2 separate regions of the Homo sapiens genome follow, and region 1 is linked to region 2. The links are contacts of gene promoters, found by promoter capture Hi-C in human tissues and cell types (Jung and others, 2019). All regions are on one chromosome and are shown on one strand. Each heading gives the region's core, a stretch centred on a gene start or on the middle of the fragment in contact. The rest is flanking DNA. Distances are from core to core; before and after follow the strand shown. Region 1 overlaps SPART (spartin). Region 2 holds the start of SMAD9 (SMAD family member 9).

Region 1 (6,570 bases), core at 2,608-5,107, 590 kb before region 2:
CTAAGAAATAAGATGCAGGCTAACTCAGACCTCATAGTATTAATATAATAAAATAACTTGAAAATCAAAGTGGCCAGTAACACAAAGAATGTCACATAAAATATAAAAACAACATTAAACAAAACAACTTCTACATGGGATAAAAGTCACCCATAAGTAAAATCTAAAGCTTTTCACTGCATATACTTTTTAATATCATTTGATTTTTTTAGAACAAGAAATTAAATTTTAAAACACAAAGTTCTAAATGATATGGAAGAATTTCCAAATATACTGTTAAGTAAAAAAGCAAGGAACAAAACATTATGTTTTACATGCCACCATTTATGTTAAATATTATATATGTCTCTGTGTGTGTGTATTTAACTACGCATAAAATATATCTAGAAGGACAACAGAAGTTAATAATTATGTGTCTGAGGGCAGGCATGCTGGCTCATGCCTGTAATCCCAGCACTTTGGGAGGCCAAGGTGGGTGGATCACCTGAAGTCAGGAGTTCGAGATTAGCCTGGCCAACATGGTGAAACTGAAACCCCATCTCTACTAAAAATACAAACATTAGCCGGGCATGGTGGCAGGCACCTGTAATCCCAGCTGCTCGGGAGGTTGAGACACGAGAATTGCTTGAACCCGGGAGGCGGAGGTTGCAGTCAGCTGAGATCGCACCACTGCACTCCAGCCTGGGCGACAGAGTGAGACTCCATCTGCAGGGGTGAGGAGACAGGGGAAGATTATGTGTCTGGACACATAATTATGTGGACAGGAATAGGGCCCAGACTTATTTTTTACCATATACTCTTTTGTACCCTTCAACTTTGGTTTCTTGTGATTAATTTTAAAACAACATTTTTAAGTAAAATATATATCTTGGAACCATTTTGGACTTCCAGTATCCTCATATAGCTGGTCTAAGATGTTCAACATAAACCACAGTGACACTTTGCAAATAAATGTAGAATATTCACGTGATATTCATCAATTCCAAAGATAATTATTGAGCATTTACCATGTGGAATATAGCAATGAACAATACTAAACTGCCTATGATACTCAAGACAATGCTGTTTTATTCATATACTTGCTTATATTACCACTTCTGCCTAGAATCCCCTTAAATTTGCTATTCATAAGGCCAACTCTTCTTTATCCTTCAAGACTCATTTTAGTTATAATGTCCTGTAGGAGGGGGCTCCTCACTGCTTCCCATACCACTCATCCACCCACACTTATCTGTTAGGCTAGGCTGCATCTTCTATCTAATAGCCACATTGGATAGAAATGATCTCTTTGCTAATCTGTTCTTTCCATTAGACAGTAAATTCATTGAGACAAGAAATTTAAACTTTTTCCACTATGTAGACCTAACATTCTAGCTCTCAATAAATATTTCCTGAACTCTAATCCAAATTTACCAGTTAGAATATATTACATACTCAGAGCCTATGAAATGAAAGAAGAAACCACTCAGTATATTTTTTTAAATCAAATCTCTGTCCTGTTGCCCATCCATAAAAAAACAGGAAACTGAATAAAAATGGCAGTGTAAGAAAAAAAAAGACAGTAGCATATCTAGCCCCCAAGCTCTTAGTGAATATAGGAAGGCAGAGAATAACACAAAACAAATAAGAAAGTATGTGCATCACTAATGCAAATATAAAAATATCTTGGCCAGGTATGGTGGCTCATGTCTGTAATGCTGGCTACTCGTGGAGCGTGAGGCAGGAGGATCACATGAGCCTGGGAGGTCAAGGCTGCAGTGAGCCATGTTTGCACCACTGCACTCCAGCCTGGGTGACAAGGCAGGATCCTGTCTCAAAAAAAATAAAATCTCTCAAACAGTTGGGAAAAAAATCTATCCCCCAAACACAGAGTATCTTTTAAAATAGTTTAAGTAACACACACTTTAAAAGGGAAATACTACAACTGATTCTAATTGTTTTTGCCAGTGATCACTTTGTTGACTAATGCACAAGTTGCTTTGCTTTAGTATATGGGAATATGATCATATAAATACATGAAACTGGAGAAAGGTACCATTAGAAGACAACACACACACTTATTACTCTTTTATTTACCCTTTTTCCACGTTTTCCTTTATGACGTACATCCTTATTGCCTTGGTCCAACTGTTTCACATCAGTGCCAGAGGCTTCTTTTAGTTGGTCAGAGGAGGGTCTAGTTCTTCCAGGGATTTGGAATTCATTTTCTTCTTCTGCTCTGTTCCAGTTGGCCTAGAGAATAAAGGTTTAAGCTTAACTCTAATCAGAATTTTTCTTAGATGGCTTTCTGCCAGCTATATTACACCATGCTCAAATGACATACTTGTTTGAATGTCAGTTTGGCAGTCTATCAGTAACAACTACTTTTGCTTTTTTCTCTACGATTCTCTTTTGTTTCATCACCAAACCCCAAACCTCTGAGTTCTTTGGTTCATAGCATATGCCTAAGTAAGTTTCAAAAGACAACGTGTAAAAGACAACTTATAGCAGTTGTTGGTATAAGTTATCTTTGAATCAGATGCAGCTACATTTAAATTTAATTAATGAATAAATTTTAGTTAACATGTACAAGAGAAAGTGAATTTAAAGGCAATTAACAAAACTCATGTCCATTTCATTATGCATTATTGGAAGGTTTATTTTTTAATTTTCTGCACAATATACACTTTGCTGAATGAATGCTTAAGAGTAAAAACCAGTCAAAATTATAGCTAGTAACTAGCTTATGTTTACAGTTGAAGTTCTGGGACAGTAAAGCAAGCTAAAAATAACATACAAATACCAAAAAATTAAATTGAAGACAGAAAATAAACATACAACCTAAAAGTCTGCTTAGTTTCTTTCCTAAAGCCCAGTAATACAGGTCCAGTTAACGTAGGGGTGAAGGGAGAAATAGTTCCACATTAGGTCTGTGAATACTTAAGAGCATCATTTCACTCAGTAAACAGTGAAGTGAAGATGAACTCCTTCATTTGACCATATTCCTGCCTTTGTGAATTCCTCCTCACAAGTACAATGAGGCTACACACTTCTGTATGCTGATCATGTATTTTGTTAAATAATTGCTGCTATGCTAAAGTATTGGTTTGTTGACCACCAGGTAGGTCATTCTCGGGTGAACAGGGGCTGATTTTATATTTTCATACACACACACACACACACACACACATCCCCCACACCTTCGTGGTCTCCTGTTCTCATACTTTGCCCATCCCATCACTTAACACAGTAACTGGTTAAATAATGAATTCCAAGTATCTGCTGATTGAAGGAGAGAATAAAAGATTATACTATTATAATGCCCACCTCATTCAACCCCTGATGACTGTCAATATTCATAATCAAAAATACTTTTTCCCTCTTGCTACAACAATATATAAAGAAAGTCTCTCCATAATACTCTATTCAAGTTCCCTGTTAAACAGAAATACTCTATTTCTACAGGTACGCATGTGGGCAGAGGAAACATGCCAAATAAGGAAAGTTCCAGGATGATCATATTTTAAATCATATTTTCTTTTTATTTTTTTATTTGGCCTTCATTTACCACAAGAACAAAGATAATTATCTCAACCAAAGCCTGTTTCTTCCTCAGAATGCCAACCATACCCCTTAAAATGTCCAACATAACCTATCTACTAAAGCTAAAATTATCTTCATGTCACCATTTAGACCCATTAGTACACTTTTCCAGCTGAGCAATAAAACAGTGGTGAAAACAATAGCTAACATTCACAGAGCATAACTACTCGTTCTGATATAAGTGCTTAATGTATTAATTTTTAATTTTCACCACAGCCCAATGAAGTGGACACTGTTATTATCCCCATTTTATAAGTAAATTAAAGTATAGAGAAGATCAGGAACAGCTGAGCTAAACGGTCATTAAGTGGAAGAGTTTGAATTCATATACAGGCAATTTGACTCTAGAGCTCACAATCTTAACCACTATTACAGCAAATTCCAAGCATGTAGTTGTGAACACACAAACAAATGGTGAACTGTCAGTCTCCTAACCTTGATTACAGTAGAGGTTATTACAATTTCTCTAAAAGCTGAAGTGCTTATGTTAAAGTAGATTTTTTTCACCCTAAAGATGATCACACAAGTTACCTGGAGCCGAAGGTCAGACATTTGCCTTAACAGATCCTCAAAGAGCTCTCTATCATCCTCTGGTAACTCAGAGGACAGGACGACCCCCACAAAGCATCCTGCTGCTTGTAGCATTGTATCAGGAAACATGTAGGCTCCCGCAGTACATTTCAGAACCGGAGATCTATCAGGAACTAGAGGATATAACCAGTCACAAACCTGAAAGGATTCATTAGAAGAAAAAAAATATACATATAAATAAATGAAACTAGATTTTCATTTATGTTTTAATAAAATTGTTATACTAGAAAATAAACACTTCAAAGTTGGAAACATATTTTAAAAGGCTTTAAGAAACATCAACATCAACAAATCCCCAAGAAAATTAATCATTTGCTAGTCTGATCTTTCTGCAATAAGGACTGTGCTAAATGTGCCATGGCTCCACTAATTATACAATCTTAAAGCTGATGGCCTTAACTAGCCTAGTGTTAACCAATAATGACTCCAGCTTTAAATAAATAATAATCAAAGTAAATTAAGGTTTTCGTTATTGAAATCAGATATTCCTTTTGTGGTAAATAAACTATTTTCAGATATTATTTACTTGAAATATTTACTGAAATAATAGTATTTACTGATTTAATCCTCCTAACAATCCTATGAAATCAGTTACTATTATTGTCATTTTATGTACAAGAAAATTGAGGCACAGAGAGGTCAATTAAGTCGCCCAGAACCAACAACTAAAAAGTGGAGCTTGGATTTTAACACATATAGTCTGGACCAGAGAAGCTGAACAAGTATTTTAATTAGAAACCCAGCACTCACAGGCCGGGCACAGTGGCTCACACCTATAATCCCAACACTCTGGGAGGCCAAGGAGAGGTGGGGGGATTATTTGAGGTCAGGAGTTCAAGACCTGCCTGGACAACATGGTGAAACCCCCATCTCTACTAAAACTACAAAAATTAGCTGGGGGTGGTAGTGCATGCCTGTAATCCTAGCTCCAGCTCCTTGGGAGGCTGAGGCAGGGGAATCACCTGAACCTGGGAGGTGGAAGTTGCAGTGAGCCAAGATTGTGCCACTGCACTCCAGCCTGGGCAACACAGCAAGACTCTGTCTCAAAGAAAAAATAAATGAATAAATAAGAAATTCAGCACTCACTCACAACATGGAATAATTTTTTGTACTAAACCCAAGAGAACCTGACATAACAGAATAGATTAAGTTAATGTTTATGGATTATCTATCTATTGTGAAATTAAAAGCAAAATAACAAAAGCTCTCCTGCAATGTCATCTGCGGAGGTCGGCTTGCCAGTACATACACAGACATAAGCTCACATCCTGGCTGCCTAATTTATTTCTAATGCAATACATTCTTTGAGAAACCAAAATATAACTGTGCTCAACATCAAAACAGTCTTACCCACAAACTTTTAACATTTGAGTAGTTATTTATTTTAATATGTATGAGAAAAATACATATTTCCCTTAATTTCAGTTATTATTAAGATAAAACTGACAAGTGGGACAATTTAGTAAAAATATAAAGCAAGTAATAGCAGTGGTATAGAGTTGACAAAAAAATTGTAAAAGTTATTCTAAAATAAAACTTAGGAAAGGTTTTTCTTTTTTTTTTCTTTTTTTTAAACTATTCCATGGTTTCTTTCAGATTATCTATATCCTGGTCACCTTAATTGAACTGCAATATCACCAAATTGTCTTTAAAAAAACCAACACTTTATAGACCTTTCCTAGGACAGGATATTACAGATAAGTGAGTCATCCACCATAGGCTGATTTTTCCCAGTTTCATTTTCAGAGGGCAATCTCATGTCCAATTTCTGTAATTATAGATTTAACAGGTTTAAAAAGTATTTGGTATTAAAACTAAAACCAAAAGAAAAATCTTTTTTTGAAGTTCCAGAATTCTATCTACCTAAAACCAAAAAAACTTAATTTCCTATTTAGACCAATAGTGATTTTAACAGTGATTTTTAGCACAGGAAATATCTAACTTCTAGTATTTAGTTGGATTATTATTGTATTTTTTTTTTTTTTTTGGATAAAAACATTCAGTAAACACATATGTTAACTCCTTTTAAGGACACTCTGCTACAAATACCTGAATACAAGCAAATGAGAACCTCTTAAAGAGACTCAAATTAAATTTTGGGTGCAATTTTACTTTTCGTTTAGGACAAAAAATACACATGAGAAAGATTAAAAACAAAATTAAATGCACTAAGGACAAATTTGTATTAAAGTACAAGTCATTTCAATGGATGAGTGAATGTAACCACGGTACAGTATTTCTGCCATTCACTACCCCATCTCCAGTTGCTAAGGACCCAAAGATTTTTTATTCCATCATTACAGTGCAACACTATTAGTAGAAACTGTTATAGCTTTTATCACCCGCCACTACAAACCCCAATCAATAAGCCTACTCTTTGTAACCTTAAGGCTCCTT
Region 2 (5,817 bases), core at 2,632-5,131:
AGTATCATAGAAGCTTTTCCTGACTGTAATGCTCAGCCACAATGTTCAGGAGAAGGAGGCTCTCAACTGGGCTGAGGGGATTTCAGGCCTCTGAACTAGTCCTCAGCTCAGATTCAACACCAGCTTCTTGAAAGATGGACTTTATCCTATGGGTGAAATGCTTTTACAGACTTTATTTCAGGAGGGACCATGGGTTCAGTGAAAAAATGTGTCATGTATTTGTTATTTATTGATAGAGTACTATAAAGGGCACTGTGGTCAGCATTCAGAGAATAAAAAAGGTAGATGAAACAGTCCCTTCCTTCCTGGATCTTGTAAGGATGGTCTGAGGGGAAGAAATAAATTAGTCTATGAGTAACTTAATACAAAACAGGTAAGAGTTGAAAAGGCGAAGAGCCACAGGAGCTCGAAGGAGGACATACCTGGGACCAGGGTCATCACAGAAAGTCCCGTGAAGGCAGCGCCTGAACAGGGCATACAAGATGAAGAAGTCATATTTGAGGATCCTGTGGGAGGTGGGGAAGCTGGGAAGGCCTCAGCGTGGGGTAAAGGTGCACAGGAGAGGAAAGCCAGGGTATGCATGGAAACTAGCATTTGCTATTTTAACTGCAGCATAAAATAGGGAAAGACCGGGAAGATAAGCCTGGAAAAGTGGTCTTGGGTCAGCCTAACACAAAAGGAAGCCGACACCAAAGGAGAGCAGAATACAAGTCAGGCAAGTGCGGCCGAGGTGTCCGTCATGGTTTTGGGGTAGGAAGTGTCAGGATGAAGACCACCAAGCAAGAAGAACATCCAGTTTTCATGGGTATAATGACTCCTAATGCTAACAGATATCTTGAAATCCTAACAACTTTAGTTGACACAAGTTTCTTAAGAGACAAAATTTACCGGAATATTTATTTTAAAAGGTTAGTTTATTACCAAGGGATAATTGTTTATTTTTTTAATGTCCTTACTTAGGACATGGACATTCACCAGGATAACATGAAACATTGTGAAAATGCTCACAGTATTGTTAAGTACTTATGCATTTACTGTTTGCATTTTTTTTTTTTGCTTTAGAATAACTTTTCAACCCACTAGCAACAGTAACCAAGGAAATATAAATCCAACAGCCTAGAATTACAACTATTTGAGAAGATTCATGGTTTCAACGTACTGCTATATTTACTGTTTCATTCTGGACAGTTTCCCGTTTCTTTAACTCCTCTCTAAGTGTCCAAAACAATATACAGAAAGTCTGCACTAAGCTTCGTTAAAGCTTTAAAATTTAGCATAGTATGTCTGGCAAATCAGAAAAACCACATATTTGTCATAACCTTTACCTTCCCTAAAATCAGAGTACATCCTGTGGATAAGGATTATTTCCCACATATTAAAGCAGAACATGATGAAACTGCTGTCCTATTTATTACAGAGGGAATGTCAGATATAAAGTAGTTACCTTAATCCTACGGTGCTCACTTACGAAACACCATCCCTCCAGTTTGGCAATGCATAGTGCACTCTCATTAATCAGAATTAAACTATTTGGAAAACATATTGAGTATTTTCATATTGACATTGAATATTTTCATCTTTATGAAACAATTTCTGGACAGACTTTTTTCCCTCCAACTGACCACATGATTAGTAAAGATAGTGTACCACTTGTTTATTACTTATGGATATCTTTAGTAATGTTTCATTTAAAAAACAAAACAAAACTCTTCTTTCTCATCCATGTCTTGGGCAATCACAGATGCAAGAGTTGACATCTGTGAATATTTTCTGATTACTTACTAACTAGGAATATATAAGTTAAAAAAATTTTTTAAAGGAGAAAAGCCAAATAGTTCATGTTGACTTTGAAAGACTGATGACAATGATGTGGCAATTCTAAAGTACTTAGAGGTTTAACCCAAAATTTGTTTACGTCTTTGATTTTTAGTAAACACTGCACTGATAAACATGAGTTTGTTCAGATCAAGAGTATGTTGGCATTCTCTTAAGCATAGTTTGAAACCAGAGAGCTCAAGCATAAAACAGCTCTGACAAAGATAACCAGTCAAGCATAAAAATGGGAGTTGGTTGTGTCAGAATACATTAAGAGGCCGAAGGCTGTCTGGCAGACAGCTGTCTTGCCATCACTGAAGGTGACTATTACCACTAAAAGTTGTTTTTCGGATACAGTACTTGAAATTGCTGTCATCTTGTATTTAAAATGCTCCTTATTTATAAAGCGTCACATCCTTTTCTTATCTGAAGCCTCCTTCTTGGATAACCACAAACCTAAAAGCAGTCTAAAATTGTGCTGATGCTTTCCTACAAGCACAGGGAAACTCTTATATTGAATCTTTGTCTATTTGGAGTTGAGAATGTCTTTGGCTTTTATTTTAAATGCCTTCTTAAATATAGATCACTATTTTTAAAATGTAAACATCCAAAGGCATTCCCTCACACTTGGAGGAATGCTAAGGCAGGAGACATGCTTGTAGTAGTCACATTTCACTTTCCCAGACGGGTGCCACAAACGTTCCGCTCAGTTACTGCTTAGGAGGCAGCATTATTAAATGCCTCACGACTTAACGGTCAGCCTCCATGCTTCTTGCTAACCTACATTTCCAAAAGATCATCCGAGAAATCTGGCAAGCCACCGAAATGGTACTAGTAAACTGGATCCATCCAAAGCACTCCACAGTGCCCTGTGGGTGTGTTTCTCACTGTAAACTACTGGGTAAAGAATTTACATACAATTTTATCTCCAAACTCGATTTGTATCCTTTGTAGGTTAGTTCTCAGGAGTACCCACTCCAGCCCAGAAATAAGTCAACGTAGTATTTCCAAACTATCACTTCAAATGTCCACGGTCAAGGGCAGGAGGAGGAAGGAATAGTAACGGGAAAACTTGTCAGCGATTAGCCATCCATAAAAATGTTCTCCCAGCGCTCCTCCTTCCGATCACAAAGCTGGCGTCAGGCAGTCTCCTGTATCTGCTTCCCACCTCGCCCCCTCCCCTCTGCGGAGAGCTGGCACCGAGGGGCGGGCCAAGGAAAAGACAAACACCCCGGCTCCGACACAGTCCAAGCGCGAGCCCGGAGACACTTCAACAACATTCCTAACTTTTTTTCTCAGTTCGCATGCCTCAAAGGTAAACAAAGCAAAAAGCCTACGAAACAGAAGGCAAGTGAGGCCAATTCGGCGCTGGCGAGTTTAAAAGTGGCCCCCAAAGAGTCACAATGACGACCCCCGCCGCCCCCTCTGTCCGCTGTCCCCTATCTCCAGCTACAGCAAGCGACCCCTCAGGCGCCTATCCTGGTCCCTGCCCACGCCCCGGGCCCCAGCCCCGACCCGACCGCCGCCCCCGCCGCGGGTCGAACATCCCCTGACAGGTCCCGGGGCCCGCGGCGCGGGCGGATGCAGGCGCGAGGAAGGCGAGCTGCGCCGCGGCCAACTCCCCAGAGCAGTCCCCTCCGGCCCCGCGCCCACCCCACCCCACCCCACTCCACCCCAGACAGGCTCCACCAAAAAACCCGGGAACAACGACCGCCAAAAGCCAAGCCTCACGCCGAGGAGCCTCCCAGGCTGCCCCGAGGACGAACAACTTCGCCCTCCACTCAATGCGCTCACACGCACGCACACAAGCAGCGCGCGGCCGAGGAGGGCACGTCTTACCTGTCCCCGCCGTGCCACTCATCCCTCCCCCACCCAGGTCCGGCGCCCCCAACCCCGCCCCCGCCGTGGTCCCCCGGCCGCCCGCTCCGAGCGCCGCGCACTCACTGCCTGGCTGCGCGCGCCCAGCGCCTGCAGGGCCCGGCGGCGGCGGCGGGGACCGAGACAGCGGCTGCAGCAGCGGCGGCGGCGGCGGCGGCGGCGGCGGCCCCAGCCGGCGTCAGTCAGACTGGAGCCGCGAAGCCTCATCGCCCGTATTAGTGCGCCGACCTGGAAAGCGGCCAGGGAGCCCTGCTTGCGGCCCGCCCCCGCCCGCCGCCGCGCGCTCTGGCCGCTCCGGGAGCCGCAGAGGAGGGGGCTGCGCGGGCCCGGCGGGGGGCGGGAGCGAGACCGGCCCCACGGCCACGTGCGCGGAAACTCGCGGCGCGGGGGTGGCGGGGTAGTACTCCTCGCAGCGGCCTGCGGCTCGGTTCCCGCCTCTTCCCCACCCCCAGCCCCGCGCTGCCCTCTCGGTCCCCCTGCGCGACCCCAGGCTCGGCCCCTGCCCGGCCTGCCGGGGTGGCCCGGGGGTGGGGTGGGAGCCCTTTGTCTGCGTGGGTCGCCTCGCGTCTCTCTCTCCCACCCCACCTCTGAGATTTCTTGCCAGCACCTGGAGCCCGAAACCAGAAGAGTTGTCAGCCCAACAAGAATATAGGATCACCGGCCCATCAGTCTGGAGACCCTTCTGAGCTGCTGTTCCTCACATGTTTCTGGGCCCTGATAGTGACTCTCACTTGCCCTGTTTGTTCCTGATTTGCTTTTCGGAGTAAGGGGATCCTGTCCCCATGGACAGTGACAGAGCAACTGGGCCGCAATGGCATAGGCAGAAGAAAATCTAATCACTCTGGGGGTGAGTGGTGGTTAAAACGACTCATGTAATTATGTGGATTGTAATTTCCTTACACATATTTATTTGCTTAACAACCCAGCATGTGAGATATATTATCTAATCTAATAAAAGATACAAACTTATGGGCACACAGCAATGTTACTGTACAACTTTCTCGTCTCACGGCCTGGCTGTCCCCCAGGTAGCCTGCCTCTTAAAGTCACTGTGGACTCCTGGAACCCACTCAGAAACGCCACTTAGGAAGAACCACCTCTGATTCCCCATCAGCCCGTAGTTCCTCACAGAAAAGGCATTTGCTGCAGGGGTGAACGTGGAATAAAGCCACAGGGCAGTTTTCAGCTTGCTCCTGTGTGCAGGAAAGTCATACCTCCAGTTGGCCCCGATGGCGGCTCCGAAATGTAAAGCAAGGCCTTAAATTTAACTGCTTTTTCTAGTTCTCAAAGCACTGCACTTTCTTCATGGCAGATGCTATTTTTGCATTATTATACCGTTGTAGTTGAACGGTGATTTGTTTAAAACAACATTTGCAGCAGAACCTTAAATACCATGCCTTAACCTCAAAGTCTTCTTTCTACACTGGCCCAGATACCTCTGCACCCGGCTATGTGTTGGGTTTGAGATTGTCCTGGGTGAGAAACACCAGGAAACAGCGGGACCGGTAAGGGCTACAGATTATATATTAAGGATTAGGCTGGATGTGGACTTTATTGCCAGTAAACTAATTAGGTCCTCAGAATTGATACCTTGTGGCTCAAGTTTTTAAAAATTAAATTAAGAAAAGAAATGGCCCAATCACTATCTCAGTTTCCTTCTCGTATATGAGCATAATGCAGAGGACAAGATGCAGAGAAAGAAATTATAACCTCTGCAGCGCTGGCTCATGCTTCTGGCATGGAGTCTTTCTCAGTTCGCAGAATTCTCTTGACTCTTGGCAGGCCTTTGATTTAGAGTATGTCTAGTCTGCTCTTTTCTGTACGTTCTCATTTACATACCAGGATATTTCTGCACGATGATGACTTTTTCCTGCCTAAACATTAGTCTGTCACTGATATAATTCCTATCATGTATTCCTCAAGGCTAGTATAGAAAGTTAATCCATTACGCTCAAGAACAATAAGATCTGGTGAGTTCCAAGAAGGAGAAAATGCTTGGCCTAAGACAGAAGGCGCAGTGTTGACACTCCATTTTACAGAAGCTGACTGTCCTGGTTAATGGAAAGCTAGACTTCGCTTTATCTTTCCCAGTGATTTCTTGATTGGCTGTGGTTTTACTGCTTA

Evidence for each region. The method cuts DNA at HindIII sites, captures the fragments that hold promoters and counts their contacts. A contact is called where the count stands out against the background at its distance.
Region 1: a fragment that was not itself captured here is called in contact with the fragment with the promoter of SMAD9 in region 2 in 1 of the 25 tissues and cell types used here (dorsolateral prefrontal cortex).

The regions. Positions count from the first base shown.
Region 1 is chr13:36,327,286-36,333,855 of GRCh38, forward strand. SPART (spartin) reads right to left here. Exons shown (of 9, transcript NM_015087.5): 3 at 4,114-4,311; 4 at 2,077-2,232. Among named protein-coding and RNA genes, the nearest start is that of SPART, 16 kb to the right of the region's middle. The HindIII fragment of the contact is 8,496 bases long and covers 1-6,570 here.
Region 2 is chr13:36,916,357-36,922,173 of GRCh38, forward strand. It overlaps SMAD9 (SMAD family member 9), which reads right to left and starts at 3,882. Exons shown (of 7, transcript NM_001127217.3): 1 at 3,760-3,882. RefSeq lists silencers at 3,793-3,862, 3,973-4,022. The HindIII fragment of the contact is 20,741 bases long and covers 632-5,817 here.